Linked DNA regions of Homo sapiens: region 2 is linked to region 1. The links are contacts of gene promoters, found by promoter capture Hi-C in blood cells and fetal thymus (Javierre and others, 2016). All regions are on one chromosome and are shown on one strand. Each heading gives the region's core, a stretch centred on a gene start or on the middle of the fragment in contact. The rest is flanking DNA. Distances are from core to core; before and after follow the strand shown.

Region 1 (4,101 bases), core at 547-3,046:
GTTCCTTGTTGATTCTGGATATTAGTCCTTTGTTGGATGCACAGTTTGCAAATATTTCCCCCATTCTGTGGGTTGTCTGTTCACTCTGCTGATTATTTCCTTTGCTGTGTAGAAGCTTTTTAGTTTAATTAGGTTCCATTTATTTATTTTTGTTTTTGTTGCATTTGCTTTTGGAGTCTTAGTCACGAATTCTTTGCCTAGGCCAACGTCTAGCAGAGTTTTTCCAATGTTATCTTCTAAAATTTTTATAGTTTTAGGTCTCAGATTTAAGTCTTTGATCCATCTTGAGTTGATTTTTCTATAAGGTGAGAGATGAGGATCCAGTTTCATTATTCTACATGTGGCTTGCCAGTTTTCCCAGCACTATTTATTGAATAGGGTGTCCTTTCCCCAGTTTATGTTTTTGTATGCTTTGTTGAAGATCAGTTGGCTGTATTTAGTTTTATGCCTGGGTTCTCTATCTGTTCCATTGGTCTAAGTGCCTATTTTTATACCAGTACTATGCTGTTTTGGTAACTATAACCTTGTAGTATAATTTGAAGTCCAGTAATGTGATGCTTCCAGATTGTTTTTGCTTAGCATTGCTTTAGCTATTTGGGCTCTTTTTTGGTTCCATATGAATTTTAGGATTGTTTTTTCTAGTTCTGTGAAAAATGATGATGATGTTTTGATGGGAATTACATTGAATCTGTAGATTGCTTTGGGTAGTATGGACATTTTCACAATACTGATTCTTCCCATCCATGAGCATAAGATGTGTTTCCATTTGTTTGTGTCATCTGTGATTTCTTTCAGCAATGTTCTGTAGTTTTCCTTGTAGAGATCTTTCACCTCCTTGGTTAAGTCTGTTCCTAGGTATTGTATTTTATTTATTTATTTATTTATTGCAGCTGTTGAAAAAGGGATTGATTTCTTGATTTGATTCTCAGCTTGGTCGTTGTTAGTGTATAGCAGTGCTACTAATTTGTGCACATTGATTCTGTAACCTGAGACTTTACTGAATTCATTTATCAGATCTAAGAGCCTTTTCGATGAGTCTTTAGGGTTTTCTAGGTATACGATCATATCACCAGAAAACAGGGATAGTTTGACTTTCTCTTTTCCAATTTGGACGCCCTTTGTTTCTCTTGCCTGATCTCTCTGCCTAGGACTTCCAGTATAAATTTTTCTTATTTTTAATTTGACAAAGCCTCATTCTGTACCAGAGAATGCATCTATATTCATAATATGTATTGGTCTGTAATTTTCTCTTTTTTGTGTTATCTTTGCCTGGTTTTGGTATCAGGCCTCAAAGAATGAGTTGGGAAGTGCCTAAGTTTCTTTTTGACTAAACTGTTGGTCAAACTTATATCTTGATATTTACAACACTCAGGAAAAGCCAAGGCCCTGCAAAGTTTATCTGGTATTCTCAAGTGGAACATACATCACCATCAACTGGGCACTGTTCAAAGCAAATTCCTGGTTCCTGAGCTCCGGAGACTCTGATTTGCAAAGTCTGCAGCAGGGCTGGGTACTCTCTATTTCCTTTTTTTTTTTTTTTTTTTTTTTGAGACGGAGCCTCACTCTGTCGTCCAGGCTAGAGTGCAATGGCACAATCTTGGCTCACCGCAATCTCCGCCTCCCAGGTTCAAGCGATTCTCCTGCCTCAGCCTCCTGAGTATCACCATGCCCAGCTAATTTTTGTATTTTTAATAGAGATGGGGTTTTGCTGTGTTGGCTGGGCTGGTCTCAAACTCCTGACCTCAGATGATCCACCCACCTCAGCCTCCCAAAGTGCTGGGATTATAGGCGTGAGCCACCATGACCGGCCAGTACTCTCTAACAAGCACCCTTAAGAGATTCTCAGATGAGCACCCTCTCATTTCCCTTTAAGAAACATTGATAGAGTTGCCCAAGCTGACCCAGCTAAGCAGCCAAAGAGGATGGGCTAGAAAAGTGATGTTTCTTCACCCAGGAGTCTGAGCTTTTAGCGTGTTCGTGTCCATAATGAATATCTAAGGCAGAAGTTAGAGTATGCATTATTTCCCAAAATTATTTGTCCACAAAAATCTCTTATCTTTTGGATAAGCACCTCATAGGATTGATGTTTCACAGCATATACTTTGGGAAGCACTGACCCAGAATTATGCAAATGTCTCTTTGGAATCTCATGGGGCTTTTTTTCTAAGCACTAACGCACTGTGGCTTGAAGCTGCTTTTGTATGTGTCACCATCAGTCAGATGTTTGCCGGGGCCTCCATTAGGATTAGCTGATTTAGGCGCTTGCCTCGAGAGCAAAATTTCAGGAGGTGCCAAAACTCCATAATCAAGAAAAATTATTATTTGGAGGCTGGGTCAACAAGACAGCGCATTGGCAGCCAGTGGAGTAAGGAAGGGATACAATGGTGTAGCGTAGGGGGTGCTTAATACTCACCGTGAGTGGAACCGAGAGCCGGGGTCTATCTCGGTGGGGCAGCAGGGCAGTCAGGCCAGGCATCTGGCCTGTCTCTCCTGTAGAAACTGCTCCAAAGGAGGGGCAGCCCTCTCTCACCTCTTGACTCCCATCCCAGGCACAATACATGGAACACAGGATTATTCAACTCCCTTAGAGACAGAGATGATGCCAAGTTGACTTACCTCCCAGCTCCTGCTCAAGTATCTAACCCACTGAGCACAAGGAGACTCAGTCAATGCCTGTGGGCAGACAAGGGGCTGGATCTCATCTGGAAAGCGTCCCTGGTCTTTGTGTGGGTGCCTTGCTTTGGATGTGCTCCCAAATCTGACTCGGGGGGAGGGAGGCTGGGTGCCAAAGAGTTTCTGGAAAAAGTCTGTCCTTTTCCGAATACCCTTCCTCTCTGTGTCCAACAGAACTTGACCTCAAATGTGCAAGTTCTAACATTCAAAAGAGTTGGGTTTGGGCCTGATTGGGCTAGTGCTAGATGTTTGTGATTTATGCAATCACTGGGGTCTGATTAAGCTCCACAGCTGGAAGGCCTTCAGCCATGACTTTGGGGAAAAAAAAAGAAAAGAAAAAAACACAAAACTCTGAAAGCCAAGAGTAGGAACAGCTTCCTGGGCCCACCCTTCAGGCTGGTTCCAGGACACTCCCTTACTCCACCACTACCCACTCATGTATCTCATTAAAAGGGCTTTATAGGTCTGTCTCTTCTTTGGAATTTCCATTTCTTCTTTATTCCAAGAACTATAAAAGCCTCATCAATTAATTGCTAACCACAGGAATCAGAACAGGGTTCCCTTTAACTAAGTGTGCAAAAGAGTTATTACAGAGGCTCCACGCTGATCTGCTCAAAAGAGGAAATGTTTTCTCTTAGACGACATCTAACTGAAGATAAGCCTCCAGCTGACTATAGAAGATTACTCTCTATGCAACAAAAAGCTGGTTCCCCACGGCCTCTACTTGTCAACACCTCATAAATTTACTTTGAGTTGCTTCATAAGCTCAAAAGTACAGTGATATCTTCTGGGAATTAAGCTTTGTAATAACTTGATTGTGTTAAACAAATAAACTTCAGAAGGCAGGGCAAGCTAGACCCCAGGGAAGCTACCCGGATGTGTGGCCTTGAGGGTTGCTGGAAGGCAGGTTCTTAGAGACTGTGTCCCTAGCTCTAGGATGCTGGCCCTCAAACAAATGTCATTTCACAGAGCAGGACCTGAGACCTAGGGTGAGAGAGGGGGTGATTGGTCCATATTCACACAGTGGCAAAGCTGGGGTTAGGATCTGGGTGTTGTTGCCAGATCCTCTCTCTTTCCCTACCGACCCCCAGGATCCAGCACCTCCACTCTGCTCCCCACCCTCCTAGGAGGGCAGGAAAGAATCTGACAAGACTGGGCGCAGTGGCTCACACCTATAATCCCAGCACTTTGAGGGGCCAAGATGGGAGGATCACTTGAGGCCAGGAGTTCAAGACCAGCCTTGTCAACATAGCGAGACCCCATCTCTATTAAAAAAAAATAGAAAAAAAAAGGAAAGACTCTTACAGCTGCCCAATGGAACATGTGTAGGAATGAGAGTCAGCCATTTTCTCTCCTCAATCAGTCTCTGCATTTTAAGTCATTTATCTTTATTGTGCTATGAAAGTCTTTGGGTTGTGTCAAATGGAT
Region 2 (3,833 bases), core at 1,002-3,501, 85 kb after region 1:
TCGAGTTGGCCTGACCCGCTTGGATCAGTGACCATTTGCTGGCAGACAGGGGAGAGCAGCTTCCAGCCTGGGTCAGAAGGGGTGGGCGAGCCCCTCGGCCCCTCACCCTCCAGGCTGCTGTGAGAGTGTCAAGTGTGTAAGGGCCCAAACTCAGGTTCAGTGCAGAACCAGGTCAGCAGGTATGCCCGCCCGTAGGTTAAGGGGGCCCTCTAAACCCCTTGCCTGGCCTCACCTGGCCAGCTCACCCCTTTTGGGTGTAGGGGAAAAGAATGCCTGACCCTGGGAAGGCTCCCTGGTAGAATACACCACACTTTTCAGGTTGTTGCAACACAGGTCCTGAGTTGACCTCTGGTTCAGCCAAGGACCAAAGAAGGTGTGTAAGTGAAGTGGTTCTCAGTCCCCAGACATGTGCCCCTTTGCTGCTGGCTACCACTCTTCCCCAGAGCAGCAGGCCCCGAGCCCCTTCAGGCCCAGCACTGCCCCAGACTCGCTGGCACTCAGTTCCCTCATCTGTAAAGGTGAAGGGTGATGCAGGATATGCCTGACAGGAACAGTCTGTGGATGGACATGATCAGTGCTAAGGAAAGCAGCAGAGAGAGACGCTCCGGCGCCCCAGCCCCACTATCAGTGTCCAGCGTGCTGGTTCCCCAGAGCACAGCTCAGCATCACACTGACACTCACCCTGCCCTGCCCCTGGCCAGAGGGTACTGCCGACGGCACTTTGCACTCTGATGACCTCAAAGCACTTTCATGGCTGCCCTCTGGCAGGGCAGGGCAGGGCAGTGACACTGTAGGAGCATAGCAAGCCAGGAGATGGGGTGAAGGGACACAGTCTTGAGCTGTCCACATGCATGTGACTCCTCAAACCTCTTCCAGATTTCTCTAAGAATAGCACCCCCTTCCCCATTGCCCCAGCTTAGCCTCTTCTCCCAGGGGAGCTACTCAGGACTCACGTAGCATTAAATCAGCTGTGAATCGTCAGGGGGTGTCTGCTAGCCTCAACCTCCTGGGGCAGGGGACGCCGAGACTCCGTGGGAGAAGCTCATTCCCACATCTTGCCAAGACAGCCTTTGTCCAGCTGTCCACATTGAGTCAGACTGCTCCCGGGGAGAGAGCCCCGGCCCCCAGCACATAAAGAACTGCAGCCTTGGTACTGCAGAGTCTGGGTTGTAGAGAACTCTTTGTAAGCAATAAAGTTTGGGGTGATGACAAATGTTTCCAGGCCATCGGTGTCCTCTCTCTTGCCTGCCGGCCTGCTGAACCTCACGACCCTAACAGCTGCCTCTCTTTGCCTTCTTGCTGAGATCTTTTCAAGTCCCCCTTGTTTTGGACAAGGACTGTTTCAGCCCTTGAGTGGGGCTGCTTTCCCACCACTCCTCCCAGTGGCTGCTTCTAGTCCCAACGCTGGGCTAGTCATTCAGACCAGTTAGGCAAGATACCTTGCCCGGTGGCATCAGGGAAGTCCCTCGCCAAAATATGCCAGGCTGAGGGGTGGAGGAGGAGGACAACAAAGCCTGCATGCTTTGTGCCACTGCCCAAGTTAGGCAGCCCCCTACCACCAGAAGGGAAATAGGGATGGGTTCTGGGCCCTGACCATCCAGGGATGCCGGATGCACACCACAGGCCCTCCACCCTCCCCTCCTGTCCTTGAGGCCTGGACTCTTAACCCTTTCCGCTGCCTCCTGAGCCCTGCATGGGGCCAGGGATGCCTTTGTGGGCTGAGTTCCTTGGTCATGGAGCTGGGGCACACGGGGTGCTGAGTTCCTTGGTCATGGAGCTGGGGCACACGGGGTGCTGAGTTCCTTGGTCATGGAGCTGGGGCACACGGGGTGCCTTATCGAATCTGGCTCCACACTCCCTGTGTGCACAAGTGTGTGTGCGCGCGGCTTGGGTTGGTTTAGCCGGTTCTTGGAAGGGCCCTGGGACCACGAAAAGGGCGGCAGCCCTGAGCCGCTGGCGTGCAGAGCGGGTGCAAGTCCTGTCCAGCACAGCCAGGCTTACCTGCCGCCTGCCTCTCGCTCTAGGCCCGCTGCGGAAGCGCGAGCCCCACCCCCGAGGTCTTCGGAGAGGAAGGAGTTCTGGCTTCGGGCCCGCAGCCTTCGGAGGACGCCTCACTCGGGCCGTCCCCCGTCCGCCCGCCCGAAACCTAAATGCGGCTCCCTGCCTGTGGGGTCGCGGCGGGGACGTCACAGAGGCGGCGACATCACAGGCACCGGCGCCTCTAATATTTCCAGCGCCCACCAGTCCCTCAGCCAAAGAGCACACTGGAGGCGGAGAGGCAGCATCCACCAGCCCGCTCCCCGCCTCCAGGACAGAGCCTCGGTCTGCATGGGGGTGACAGGTGGGAGCGGCCGAGCGCCCGGGGGCGAGGGTTGGGGCAGGCGGGGAAAGCGAAAGTGAGAGGGGGAGGGGCGCGAAGGGGGCGGTCAGGAATCCGCCCAGGGCCCGTTCCCCTGCTCCCAAACCCCCGGCACCTGAAAGGCAGGTCGACCCGCCGCCAAAGCCCACCCGGTGCCCCTGACTACGGCTCCCAGCCTCAGCCCCTGCGCGGTGCACACCCATGTGCTCTCACGGACACGCATGCGCGCCTTGGAGTAGGGACTGCAGAGTCAGTGGTTCTTGAAGGGGTTCTGAGACCACAGAAGGAGCAATGGCCTTGTGCACAGGAAACGACTCATGAATTATCCTGAACTGCAGATCCAAAAAATCACATCCAGTTGTCCCTCCTTGATGCTTGAGGCTTTGCAGGGAGGAGCGGCAGTCTTCAGCACATTTTTACGGAGCGCTTCGTTGATGCCTTGTACTCTTCTCTGAACCAATGAGCAAAGATGTTTGCCCCCAGTGCCCTGTGTCTCCCCTTCCCATAGGGGCGTCAGATCCCCCACTGAAATGGTGGCTTTCTTTTGGGGATCCTCTCTCCCAGAAGGGCATGGGCCAGCATTAAAAACGGTCAAAAATTAGGTGGGCATGATGGCTCAACGCCTGCAATCCCAACACTTCGGGAGGCAGAGGTGGGAGGATCACATGAGGCCAGGAGTTCAAGATCAGCCTAGGCAACATAGCGAGACTTTGTCCTCTACAGGAAATGTTTAAAATTAGACAGGTGTGGCGGCATGAGCCTGTAGTCCCAGCTACTTGGGAGGCTGAGCTGGGAGGCTCACTGGAGCCCAGGAGTTGCAGTGAGCTATGATGCTGCCACTCCAGCCTGGGCCACAGAGCAAGACCCTGTCAAAAAAAAAAAAAAAAAAACCAGAGGTCGGGTGCAGTGGCTCACGCCTGTAAGGTAAAACGTAGATTAGACAGCCAGGTCTGTCATGGAGAGGATTACACTGATTATTTGAATTGGGCTTTCAGGCATGAGTAGGACTTTGCCAGAAGAAGGCTTTCCAGGTATAAGAAATAGCATTTGCAAAGGCACTGGGTGCAGAAAGGCCTGCGGTACTCTGGGGGTAGCTTCGGCTTAGGGTGAGGGACAGGAAGCTGGATGCCAAGAGATGAAAAATGAAGGTAGAGATCAGACCAAGAGGCCACATGGAGTCTGGGGGTAACCGGAGACAAGTGAGATGTAGCAGGCTCACTCTGAGGTCATTGAAAATCCAGGTTGGAGGGGGACATAGTTGCAGTGGTCCCACTGGAAGACTAAAGAGATTTAAGACAGTGCAGTGAGTAGCATCCCAGAGTTTGGAGCCAGCCAGACCTGCCTTTGGGTCGTGTGCTGCTCTTAATAGCTGCATGACCTCATACACGTTTCCTCATCTGTGAGAGGAGAGCCGTGGCCAACTGGGCATAGGGTAGGTATGAAGACTGAATGTGCAAAGCACTCAGCACCAAGT

What was found. Contacts are between HindIII fragments. The CHiCAGO score rates a contact against its expected background, and 5 or more counts as called.
Region 2: the fragment with the promoter of SPATA32 here is called in contact with a fragment that was not itself captured in region 1 in 10 of 17 cell types (neutrophils, activated CD4 T cells, monocytes and 7 more); the score reaches 9.5 in neutrophils.

What each region holds. Positions count from the first base shown.
Region 1 is chr17:45,344,977-45,349,077 of GRCh38, reverse strand. No RefSeq gene overlaps it. Among named protein-coding and RNA genes, the nearest start is that of MAP3K14, 30 kb to the right of the region's middle. The HindIII fragment of the contact is 3,357 bases long and covers 118-3,474 here.
Region 2 is chr17:45,260,512-45,264,344 of GRCh38, reverse strand. It overlaps SPATA32 (spermatogenesis associated 32), which reads left to right and starts at 2,251. Exons shown (of 5, transcript NM_152343.3): 1 at 2,251-2,341. The coding sequence starts at 2,329. MAP3K14 (mitogen-activated protein kinase kinase kinase 14) reads left to right here. Exons shown (of 16, transcript NM_003954.5): 16 at 1-1,226. All of the region lies in intron 2 of MAP3K14-AS1 (MAP3K14 antisense RNA 1), which reads right to left. RefSeq lists enhancers at 1,210-1,813, 2,248-2,337, 1,814-2,419 and silencers at 2,368-2,417, 2,488-2,607. The HindIII fragment of the contact is 9,151 bases long and covers 1-3,833 here.